Regions from separate parts of the Homo sapiens genome. Here region 2 is linked to region 1. The links are contacts of gene promoters, found by promoter capture Hi-C in blood cells and fetal thymus (Javierre and others, 2016). All regions are on one chromosome and are shown on one strand. Each heading gives the region's core, a stretch centred on a gene start or on the middle of the fragment in contact. The rest is flanking DNA. Distances are from core to core; before and after follow the strand shown.

The links. Contacts are between HindIII fragments. The CHiCAGO score rates a contact against its expected background, and 5 or more counts as called.
Region 2: a contact is called between the fragment with the promoter of SV2A here and a fragment that was not itself captured in region 1, in 4 of 17 cell types (monocytes, activated CD4 T cells, M0 macrophages and 1 more). The highest score is 8.0, in monocytes.

The regions. Positions count from the first base shown.
Region 1 is chr1:150,173,714-150,179,615 of GRCh38, forward strand. It overlaps LINC02988 (long intergenic non-protein coding RNA 2988), which reads left to right. Exons shown (of 4, transcript NR_135098.1): 3 at 17-101. Among named protein-coding and RNA genes, the nearest start is that of LINC02988, 16 kb to the left of the region's middle. The HindIII fragment of the contact is 3,464 bases long and covers 1-3,089 here.
Region 2 is chr1:149,915,571-149,920,673 of GRCh38, forward strand. It overlaps SV2A (synaptic vesicle glycoprotein 2A), which reads right to left and starts at 2,274. Exons shown (of 13, transcript NM_014849.5): 1 at 2,169-2,274. RefSeq lists a silencer at 2,118-2,187. The HindIII fragment of the contact is 16,072 bases long and covers 1-5,103 here.

The sequences.
Region 1 (5,902 bases), core at 108-2,607:
TTCTTCTCTTTCCAAGTTGGCTTCAGGTCACATGTTGCTCTGGAGAACCGAGAAGGGTGAGCAGACACCAATCATGACCCCAAACAGCAAGAGGACAGAAGGTAAGTGAAGTCTTTATGATCAAGCAAGAAATATTCTGTTTACAATGGAAATTATTATAAATTATCTTTTTTTACATGACATTGAAATGAGTTCTAGTAAATGTATCTGTTAGTAAGGAAAAGACCAAAGCAATGCCGGGCAGTGATGTCAAAGTAACATAATACTGTAATCTACTTGACATTCTCTGATAATATACCACAACACTGCAGCCTATAATTTCCTACAGATTAATATGCCAAGAAGGTGCCAGTTACTTATTGAAATGTAAAATTCAGATGATTTCACTGGTGTGTGGTGGGAGCTTATGCACATGGGTATATAAACGTGTGGCTGCTTTCTCTCTTATTTCACAAAAGTCCATTGCGGGTTTTTTGTTCGTTTGTTTGAGATGGAGTCTCGCTCTGTTGCCCAGGCTGGAGTGCAGTGGCATGATCTCTGCTCACTGCACCCTCCGCCTCCTGGGTTCAAGCGATTTTCCTGCCTCAGCCTCCTAAGTAGCTGGGATTACAGGCATGCGCCATCACACCTGGCTAATTTTTTTGTATTTTTAGTAGAGATTGGGTTTCACCATGTTGGCCAGGCTGTTCTCGAACTCCTAACCTCATGATCTGCTTACCTAAGCCTCCCAAAGTGCTGGGATTATAGGCTTGATCCACCACGCCCAGCCTTCATTGTGATTATTAATTTTGGAGTACAAGCTGTCATCACACTGTCATCAAAAACATTTATTAAGTCTCCAAATTGCAAAGTATGTTTTGTTTTTGTAACTGTTTATTTACCTTTCTCCCAACTAGATGGTGAGCAGTTTACACAGGTGCTCAACAAATGTATTTTAATGAATGTCTACAAGAGGTTAACTAATTTGAATTTTTAAAAAAAATTACCCGAGGTGGGCGGATCACGAGGTCAGGAGATCGAGACCATCCTGGCTAACACGGTGAAACCCTGTCTCTACTAAAAATACAAAAAATTAGCCGGGAGAGGTGGCGGGCACCTGTAGTCCCAGCTACTCGGGAGGCTGAGGCAGGAGAATGGCGTAAACCCCGGGGGACAGAGCCTGCAGTGAGCCGAGATCGTGGCACTGCACTCCAGCCTGGGCGACAGCGAGACTCCATCTCAAAAAAAAAAAAAATTACACAGCACAATAGAAGCATAATAAAAGTATAACAACAATAATGAACCTATAAGAAGGCATTGAAGTTGCTGCCCAGAAAGTCAGTTTCCCGTTCCAGCTCTGCTCCTTGGTTGTTTGACATTGGGCAGGTCTCAATTCTCACATCTATTTCCTCATCTGAAAAACAGAATAACTCATGTTTGCTCTACTTACCCAGGAGGCTACTGTAAGAATCAAATGAATCCATCAATTTTAAGGTGTTTTACAAACGATGAAGTATTTTGCTGATGTTATTATTTCTTTTTGTTGTTGCTGTTTTGAGACGGAGTCTCACTCTGTCACCCAGGCTGGAGTGCCGTGGTGCCATCTCAGCTCACTGCAACCTCTGCCTCCCAGGCTGAAATGATTATCCTGCCTCAGCCTCCCAAGTAGCTGGAACTACAGGCACCCACCACCATACCCAGCTAATTTGTGTGTTTTTAGTAGAGACAGGGTTTCGCCATGTTGTCCAGACTGGCCTCGAACTCCTGGCCTCAGGTGATCCACCTACCTCGGCCTCCCAAAGTGCTGAGATTACAGGTGTGACCCACCGCGCCCGGCCTGCTGATGTTATTATTTCAACAGAAAAATTATTTTAGAAGTGGCATGCATTTTACTAGGATGCAAAACATGATTGGGGAAACAGACTCAAGAATTCTAAACCTAGGCAGATTGAGGTCAGGGAAGGTACCTCTCATCTCTTTAGTCTTGAAGTAGTCTAGAAGTAATCTACTCCTGGTCTCTGCTGTTTATTATTTGTCTTCTTTGAGCTTCAGTTTCTTTTTTTTTCTTTTTTTTTTTTTGTAGACAAGAGTCTTACTCCGTTGCCCAGGCCAGAGTGCAATGGCACGATCTCGGCTCACTGCAACCTCCACCTCCTAGGTTGAAGCGATTTTTCTGCCTCAGCCTCCTGAGTAGCTGGGATTACAGGCACCTGCCACCATGCCCGGCTAATTTTTGTATTTTTACTAGAGACGGGGTTTCACCATGTTGGCCAGGCTGCTCTCGAACTTCTGACCTCAGGTGATCCACCCATCTCAGCCTCCCAAAGTGCTGGGATTACAGACATGAGACATGGCACCTGGATCTTTTTTTTTTTTTGAGACAAGGTCTCACTCTCGCCCAGGCTGGAGTGCAGTGGTGCGATCTCAGCTCACTGCAGTCTCCGCCTCCTGGGCTCAAGGAATTCTCATGCCTCAGCCTCATGAGTAGCTGGGATTACATGCGTGTGCCACCACACCTGACTAACTTTCATATTTTTGGTAGAGACGGGGTTTCACCATGTTGGCCAGGATGGTCTTGAACTCCTGACCTCAAGTGATCCTCCCACCTTGGCCTCCCAAAATGCTGGGATTACAGGTGTGAGCCACTGTGCCCGGCCCTCAGTTTCTTTATATCATTCTCTCTGAGCCTCGTTTATGTTATATGTAACATGGTGATAAAATGTGCCTTGCCCCAGAAGGTTTGCTAGGGGGTTCAAATTAGATGATTGTTGCTAAGGTCTCTGTGACAGCTATAAAGTACTATACAAATGTAAAAAAATCTTGTATGAATTACCTGAAGGTGATGAGCTTTCAGAGACAGTTTCAGTAAAGCACACAGGCTGAGAGTATGGGAGGCTAACATTGGCAGTCACATCCCAGGAAAGAATAGAACATTTTGGTATCTATTATCTTGGGTTGGATTACACATTGCCTTAGGAACTCCATTGTGACAAGGCCTTGCAAAAAAGTAAAATGAAACATAGGCCCTTTCACATACATTGGCTCAATAAATCTTCCCAACACTGTGCCAAGTGGGAATTATGATGCCCATTTGACTGATGGGGAACTGAAGCTTGGAGATGTTGAAACATACCCAAGATTATGCAACTGGCAGATGGCTGCATCAAAACAAATTTCTCCAACTCCAGCAGAAAAGTTAAGAGCATGCTTACATGAAAAGGAAGAGCTGGCCGGGCGCGTGGCTCACACCTGTAATCCCAACACTTTGGGAGGCTGAGGCAGGTGGATCACCTGAAGTCAGGAGCTTGAGACCAGCCTGACCAACATGGAGAAACCCCATCTCTACTAAAAATACAAAAAAAGAAAAAATTATCTGGGCGTGGTGTTGCATGCCTGTAACTCGGGAGGCTGAGGCAGGAGAATCATTTGAACCCAGGAGGCAGTGGTTGCTGTGAGCCGAGATCAGACCGTTGCACTCCAGCCTGGGCAACAAGAATGAAACTCCGTCTCAAAAAAAAAAAAAAAAAAAAAAAAGAAAAGGAAGAGCTAGTCGGGGGTGGCCTTAAACAAATGGCCCATTTCTCATTCCTCCCTGACACAACTTTCTACCCAAGCCAGCAAACATTTTCTTTCACAAATACTTCTTTTCTCTTTTTTTTTTTTTTTTTGTTAGACGGAGTCTCACTCTGTCACCCAGGCTGGAGTGTAGTGGCACAATCTCAGTTCACTGTAACCTCCACCTCCCTGGTTCCAGCAATTCTCCTGCCTCAGCCTCCCAAGTAGCTGGGTTTATAGGTGCATGCCACCGTGCCCGGCTAATTTTTGTATTTTTAGTAGAGACAGCGTTTCACCAAGTTGGCCAGGCTGGTCTCAAACTCCTGACCTTGTGATCCACCTGCCTCGGCCTCCCAACATTCTGGGATTACAGGCATAAGCCACCGCGCCCGGCCAGTACTTCATATTTCTTACTATGGCTGGGGTTCCCAGAGAAACAACTATGACAACAGGTGGATTTAGGATACAACAGGGTGACGTCTGTGCACGGGCAGGAAGGCATTTTTACTGGAGCGGAGTATGATCAATGTTCACAGCTGTGGCAGCCTGCTCCCCTGAAAGATCTTTAATTGGAGAAGAAGTGGCTATAGCCAGCTTCACTCTGACCCTGTTAGAAATGCCCAGTTCTTAAGTCACATCCCAATTCTACACATAGACTCAAGGGTTTGCAGAAACACCCACTACTCTCCCACCTCCCTCCTCATAAATATGTTCATCCTATGGCCTAGGCGAGTCAAGAGTAGTCCGTCAGACACAAAGACACTAGTGGTCCCTATTTATGTATAAATCTTTTTCACCACCTAGAATTCTTCCTTCATTATTTTGTGTCTCTTCCCTTATTTAAAAGCTAATTTTAAAAAATCTAACTCAAATATCAAAAATTAGAAACAGCCCCAATGTACATCAATTTGGAGACCAATTTGGCTGGACTCACACCTGTAATCCTAGCACTTTGGGAGGCTGAGACAGGTGGATCGCTTGAGCCCAGGAGTTTGAAACCAGCCTGAGCAACAGGGTGAAACTCCGACTCTAAAAAGAAATACAAAGATTAGCTGGGTGTGTTGGCACACACCTGTAGTCTCAGCTAATCAGGAGGCTGAAGTGGGAGGATACTTTGACCTCAGGAGGCAGAGGTTGCAGTGAGCCGAGATCACGCCACTGCACTCCAGCCTGAGAAATACAGCGAGACCCTGTCTCAAAAAAAAAAAAAAAAAAAAGGAGACTAGTTTAAATAAATAATGAGAGCACACATTCAAACAATGGACTATTAAAAGAACAAAGTAGACAGGACATGGTGGCTCACACCTGTAATCCCAGTGCTCTGGGAGGCCAATGCAGGAGGATCACTTGAGGCCAGGGTTTGAGACCAGCCTGGGCAACATAGGGAGAGCCCATCTCTATAAAAAATTTAAAAATTAGATGGGCATGGTGGCACACTCCTGTAGTTATAGCTACTTGGAGGCAGGAGCAGGAGGAAGTCTGGGGTTACAGTGAGCTATGATTGCACCACTGCAATCCAGCCTGAGCAATAGACCAAGGCCCTGTCTCTTTAGAAACAAACCAAAAATAGATATAGCAAGACTGCCAAAATATAATGTTAAGTGAATTAGTAAAGGGAAGAGCAAGGTGTATAGTATGTTCCAATTTTTATAAAAAATAAATATTAAACATAGGCTTACAGTGGCACAAAAAGCTCTAGAATACACAAGAACTGTTAAGAATGGCTGACTCTGGTTAAGGAGACACTTTTCATTGTATTCCTTTAGTGCTGTTTGAATTTTACCATGGCATATATTACTAATTCAATTCAAACAAAACAAAAACAACTTTAACTAAACATGTTTTTCTACCAAAAGCTTTACTTGTCCACCCTACTTCCTAAGTATCTCCCAAATCTGATTACCACCCCCTTCCCACTGCCTCTGCCCCAGCCCAACTACAGGAGTGGACTGTGCTTTGCTCCTGAATTCCATAATCTCAAGGGGCATGTTTCCTTTAAAACATAATTGTTTAAAAAAAAAAAACACCTGGTTATCCAGACCATTTGGTTAAATTGAAAACTATCAAAAGGCATATTACCAGTCACACCTGGCTGTATCCTGCATTACAGAGCTGTTTGAAGGTCAATTTTGAGTTGTTTGCCCTGAGTGCCAACATTGCTACTCATGGTTTTGCCTCTACAGTTTCAGGCCATCAACCCCTCTCTCTCCAACGACTGCAACAGTCTTCTAATTAGTGTCACTAACTCTACTGTTTCTTATGCCCACACTGCAATTAGAGTGATCTAAAATTTTAAATCTGGCTTGGCGCAGTGGCTCACGCCTGTAATCCCAACACTTTAGGAAGCCGAGGCGGGCATATCACCTGA
Region 2 (5,103 bases), core at 1,024-3,523, 260 kb before region 1:
ATTTCCAACATGAGGTTCTAAGGCCTACAGTTGCATCCCATCCCTCCAGGGCCTCCCTTCCTAATCCCCCTTAATCCTTTCTGCTCCTCCTCCAGGAGTCAAGGAAGAAGGAGTCCACAAACACCGCATTGCGTAGGAGGCGGATGTAGAATAAAGGGGGTTTGGGTGTCCCCCCAAAAAAGACATTCTCCAGAGGAAGGCATGGGATAGCCCCCTTCCTTCATAGGAGCAGAGGAAGCAGGCCTAGATTCTGATCAGAAATCATCCCCCTAAAAATATCCTGCCTCCGGTGCTCCCACCCATCCAGGGCCTTCATTAAAACACACACACACACACACACACGCACACACACACACACGCCCTGGTAGAAGACGGTAAGCAATGCTATGTGGTTCAGAGAGAAGCACTGGCAAGCAGCGCCTTATCCCCTCAGGACAGATGTAAGCAGTGGACCACGGTGACCAGAAGCAGTGACCCCTATGTCACCTTTTCTTCATGGTTCAGGGCCCAACCATCCCCCATGAAAGAGCTGGAACTGCGGAATCCCCTCAGCGCATGGCAATTTGCTAGCTTTCCTCTCTTTCCTAACCAGGATCTCCCCTCCAGCCCTGAAGGAGGCAGGACCCACCAGGAGCCATACTCTATGTTTGTTGACCCTATTTCCCCCTGAGAGGGGCACGTAGGGCAGGGAAGCCTTCCACAACCACAGCAGGATATGAGGTCTCAACAGCCAGCTTCCTCAGGGCCAGCAAGCCCAGGAGGTCAGGAGAGAAAGAAAGAAGACAAATTCTTTGAGCTGGTGAGGAAGTGGTGCTATTTTTAGCCCCCAAAACAGCACAGGGTGGCTAAGCCTGGGGGAGTGAGACAAGACTTGGAGAGGTGGAGGTTAAAGGAGACAAGGTTCAGGGTTACAAGGTCCTAGGCTGGCTGACTTCACCTGACAGGAAAAAATGTGCCCAGGAGATTTTCTGCAGAGGGTGGAGACAGGCAGGGGACTCCAGAGCAAATGCTTTCTTTCAGAACAGCTCATCCAGCCCTGGGTCCAGAACCCCCCACCCTCCCAGTCAAAGCCCCTGACTTTGGGGTCCACCCAGATCCCCAGGCCTTCCTAGCTCAGGTGACAAGGTCATTAAAAAGCAATCACTTATCAAAACGTCCGCGGGGGCGGGGGTAGAATGTGGGAGGTGCGGGAGCACCCCTTCCCCATGACAGCCCGGTCATCGAACTTCAGCCCCCACCCAGGACCATCAAGACTGCGCCTCCCCTCCCCACATCCTACCAAGGTTAGGAAGATAGGAGCACCCACAGTTCTGAGGGATAAAAATGAGGGTGTCAGCTGAGAATGCACACTGAGGAATACGGAGAGGCAGAGAGGGGGACGCAGGGAGAGACCTCCGCATGCACAGACATAGAGACCGCCCCTATCAGCATTTGCAGCGACCCCCCCACACCCCATCTTGCCTCAGCTCCGGAATAAGGGAAAAGCCCCCAGAACTGACTAAATCCCTGCTCTGAGCACCTCCTCCACCCTTGGTCCTGCTGCTAGACAAGTGTCCACCTTCACTCAACATCCCTTCCCCCCACCCCGGAGCAACTGCCGCCAGCCCCCGCCATCCATGCCCCCAACACCTGGCGGCTCTACATCTCTGTCTCCCCAGTATTTCCATTCTTCACTCCCCTTCCCTCCATCCTTCACCTGCCCTTCTTCCCCTGCCCCCCACCCACCCAAGTCCAGGCGTGCACACTGAGGCAGCATCCATTCTCCAGCCCCAGCCAAGGTCATTTATCATTCATCCTGGGGGTGGGGGGACGTCAAGGTGAGGAGGGGATAGGAGTTTGAGGGAACCTCATCCCACCTCACAACCCCACCACCACGTTAATCTCCGAAGGGGATAGTGGGGACTTGGTTAAGGTAGAGAAAAACACCCCTCCTCCCCATTCACCAATATTATACATATGCGTGTGTGTGTGTGTGTCCTGAAGAGCACAACTGAAATAAATGTCCATCCCCAAACCACCACCAACCCACCAACCCCCCTCACCCCTAGAGAGGGGATCGTCACCCTCCCCATAAGCAAAGCATCGGAGGATAAAATGGCTGCAAGGCAAGGCAAAGATGCTTCTGCCAGGGGCGGGGAGGAGGTGAGCGACTGAGAAAGGGGTCTCACCTGGTCTAGGTTCCCCGGGTAAGGAGTCCCGGGCGAGGACGGGGGTCCCGGCCGCGGGCGGAGGCGGCAGCGGCGACTGCTCCCGGCACCAGGGAAGCGGCAATGCAGACCTGCCACCCCCCTTCCACCACTCCAGCCCCGCCTCCGCCCCCCCCTACCCCGCGCCACTGAGCATCGGGAGAGACCATTGGTGGGGAGAGGAGAAAAGAGGATGGGGAGGGAGTCAGGGCACGGGGAGAAATGATGAAAGGGCCGGAGGTTGTCACAAGAACAGCTGGAAATGGCACCCAGCCCTTCCCAGGCCCTTCCTAGTAAAAGATAGAAGGAACTAAAGAAAAAAACAGTGATGTTAGGAAGACAAGTGGGAAGACAGGGAGATGGGGAATGTGGCAGCCCCTTCCTTAGCACCCCAGTCTCAGTATGGCAGGACCCAATAATTTCAGGGGCTTTTGCTGCCTTCAAAACACCTCCCTTGCCTTCTCCACTGCTCTCAAACTCCTTTTTCACAACAGTCTCCCAAATCCAGAGTGCTCCTATTCCAAGTTTACCTGGACATTTTAGAGAAAGCAGAGATAACAAGGTGTGGTTTCTATCCTGAACTGCCAGAGTCAGAGACCCCTGGATTCCTTCCATCTCTTTCCTCACAAAACAGTCCAGGTTACTTATTTACAGTGGACACCTCCTCATCCTGTCCATTCAGTTGGTGGTAGCAGAAGTACTGGGGAAGTTGAGGGATTTTTACAGACCTGACCAACCGGACAGTTCCCCTTCCATTAATTTGCTCCAATGACTCAAAAAGGATCCTCTCAATACCCTTCTCCATTTTCTCTTACTCTCCTCTACCTCCCTCCCCTCCCCTCCACACACTTGTACTTCCCGGGCAGGAAGAAGTAAATTGTTTCAGCTTTTCCCTTCATCTTTCCTTTGCTCTTGCATCAATAACCTGGACTCAGAGATCCAAGACATGCCACTTGGTGACACTTGATGACCATCCCTGCCGAAGGAGTGAGAGGGAATATGGTGATTTGGGGAAATACATCCTGAATGTGTCTATGCCAGATAAGGTCAGGACCTTCCAGACAGCACTGACCTGGGCTTGGACCTGGGTTCTCACTGCTAACAAGCTGTCAACTCTTGGTCAAGTTCTCCACATCTGTGAACTTCAGGTTTCTCATCTGGAAAAGGGGGGCTTGGACTAGATACTGCATCAGGTCCCTCTCAGATCTAATAGCGTGTGATTCTGCCTTACTAAATGTGGAGGCTTCAGAATGCTGATATATATACATGGAGAAGGCTGACAGGCTATGTCCGAAGAGACCACACAGGTAACATTTGCCAGGTTGAATTTACCTCTGACAGGGACACGGGCCTGGGCTTTGCAGACTCCAAAGCTGGATCTTGGAAATAATCATTCATGCCAACAAAGTTCACAATCTTCTGAAATATAAAGCCATAATACATAAATATTAATTTATCATAAATATTTAACTGTCACTCAGACTGAAAACTCATATCTACATGTCTAGTACATTCTCTCCCTGAAGCCAAATCAGAATCATAATGTCAATGTATAAATGCACAATGACATTACTGGAGGATTTGTATCTTTAATGGCATCTGGCCATCTGCAATAAGCAGCCATGCCAATGGGTCCAGAAAACTCTTCTTGGCAACAATCTTCTACCCCCACCTCTTTGCTATTGGCAGCCTTGCCAGCACTCCTGGACTACTCTGAATGTGACGGCTTTCCAGGATGGTGCTTGGACTGGCCTCAGGGACTCTCCCTTTACTAGACTTTCATTGCTGACCCGTCTTCAGGTTAACACACATTCTTTTTCTTTTTTTTTTTTTTTTTGAGACAGAGTCTCACTCTGTCGCCCAGGCTGGAGTGCAGTGGCGCAATCTCAGCTCACTGTAACCTCCACCTCCGGTGTTCAAGTGATTCTCCTGCCTCAGCCTTCCCAGTAGCTGGGACTACAGGCACGAGCCACCACACCCAGTTAACTTTTTTTTTTTTTTTTGAGACAGAGTCTTGCTCCGTCGCCCAGGCTGGAGTGCAGTGGCACAATCTCGGCTCACTGCAAGCTCCGCCTCCCGGGTTCATGCCATTCTCCTGCCTCAGCCTCCCGAGTAGCTGGGACTACAGGTGCCCGCCACCACACCCGGCTAATTTTTTGTATTTTTAGGAGAGACGGGGTTTCACTGTGTTAGCCAGGATGGTCTCGATCTCCTGACCTTGTGATCCGCCCGCCTCAGCCTCCCAAAGTGCTGGGATTACAGGCGTGAGCCACTGCGCCTGGCTAACTTTTGTATTGTTAATGGAGACAGGGTTTCACCGTGTTGGCCAGGCTGCTCTCGAACTCCGGACCTCAAGTGATCCACTCACCTCTGCCTCCCAAAGTGCTGGGATTACAGGCGTGAGCCACCGCACCCAGCCAAATATGTTAACATTTTCAATTAGGTTATAGCCAAGTCCAGCAGGAGAGCATTTGGCCAGCAGGGAGCCATTTCTTCCCTTTAAGGTGACTTTGCCTACTCTCCACTGATACCTTATTTGCTAAAATAGAAATCTTGCATACTTTTAGAGTGAAAACTTATACCATCAGTCCTCCATATCCATGGGTTTGGCATCCATGGATTCAACCAACTGTGGATGGAAAATGTAGTTAGGCCTATGATGGTTGCATTTGTACTGAACATGTATAGACATTCTCCTCTTGACATTTATTTCCTAAACAATACAGTATAACAACTACTTGCATAGTATTTACACTGCATTAGGTGTCACAAGTAATCTAGAGATGATTTAAAACACACTGGAGGATGTGCCTAGGTTATATGCAAATGTGCCATTTTATATAAGAGATTTGAGCATTTGTGAATTTTGATTATCTGTGGAGGGTCCTGGAACCAATCCCTTGAGAATACACAAATG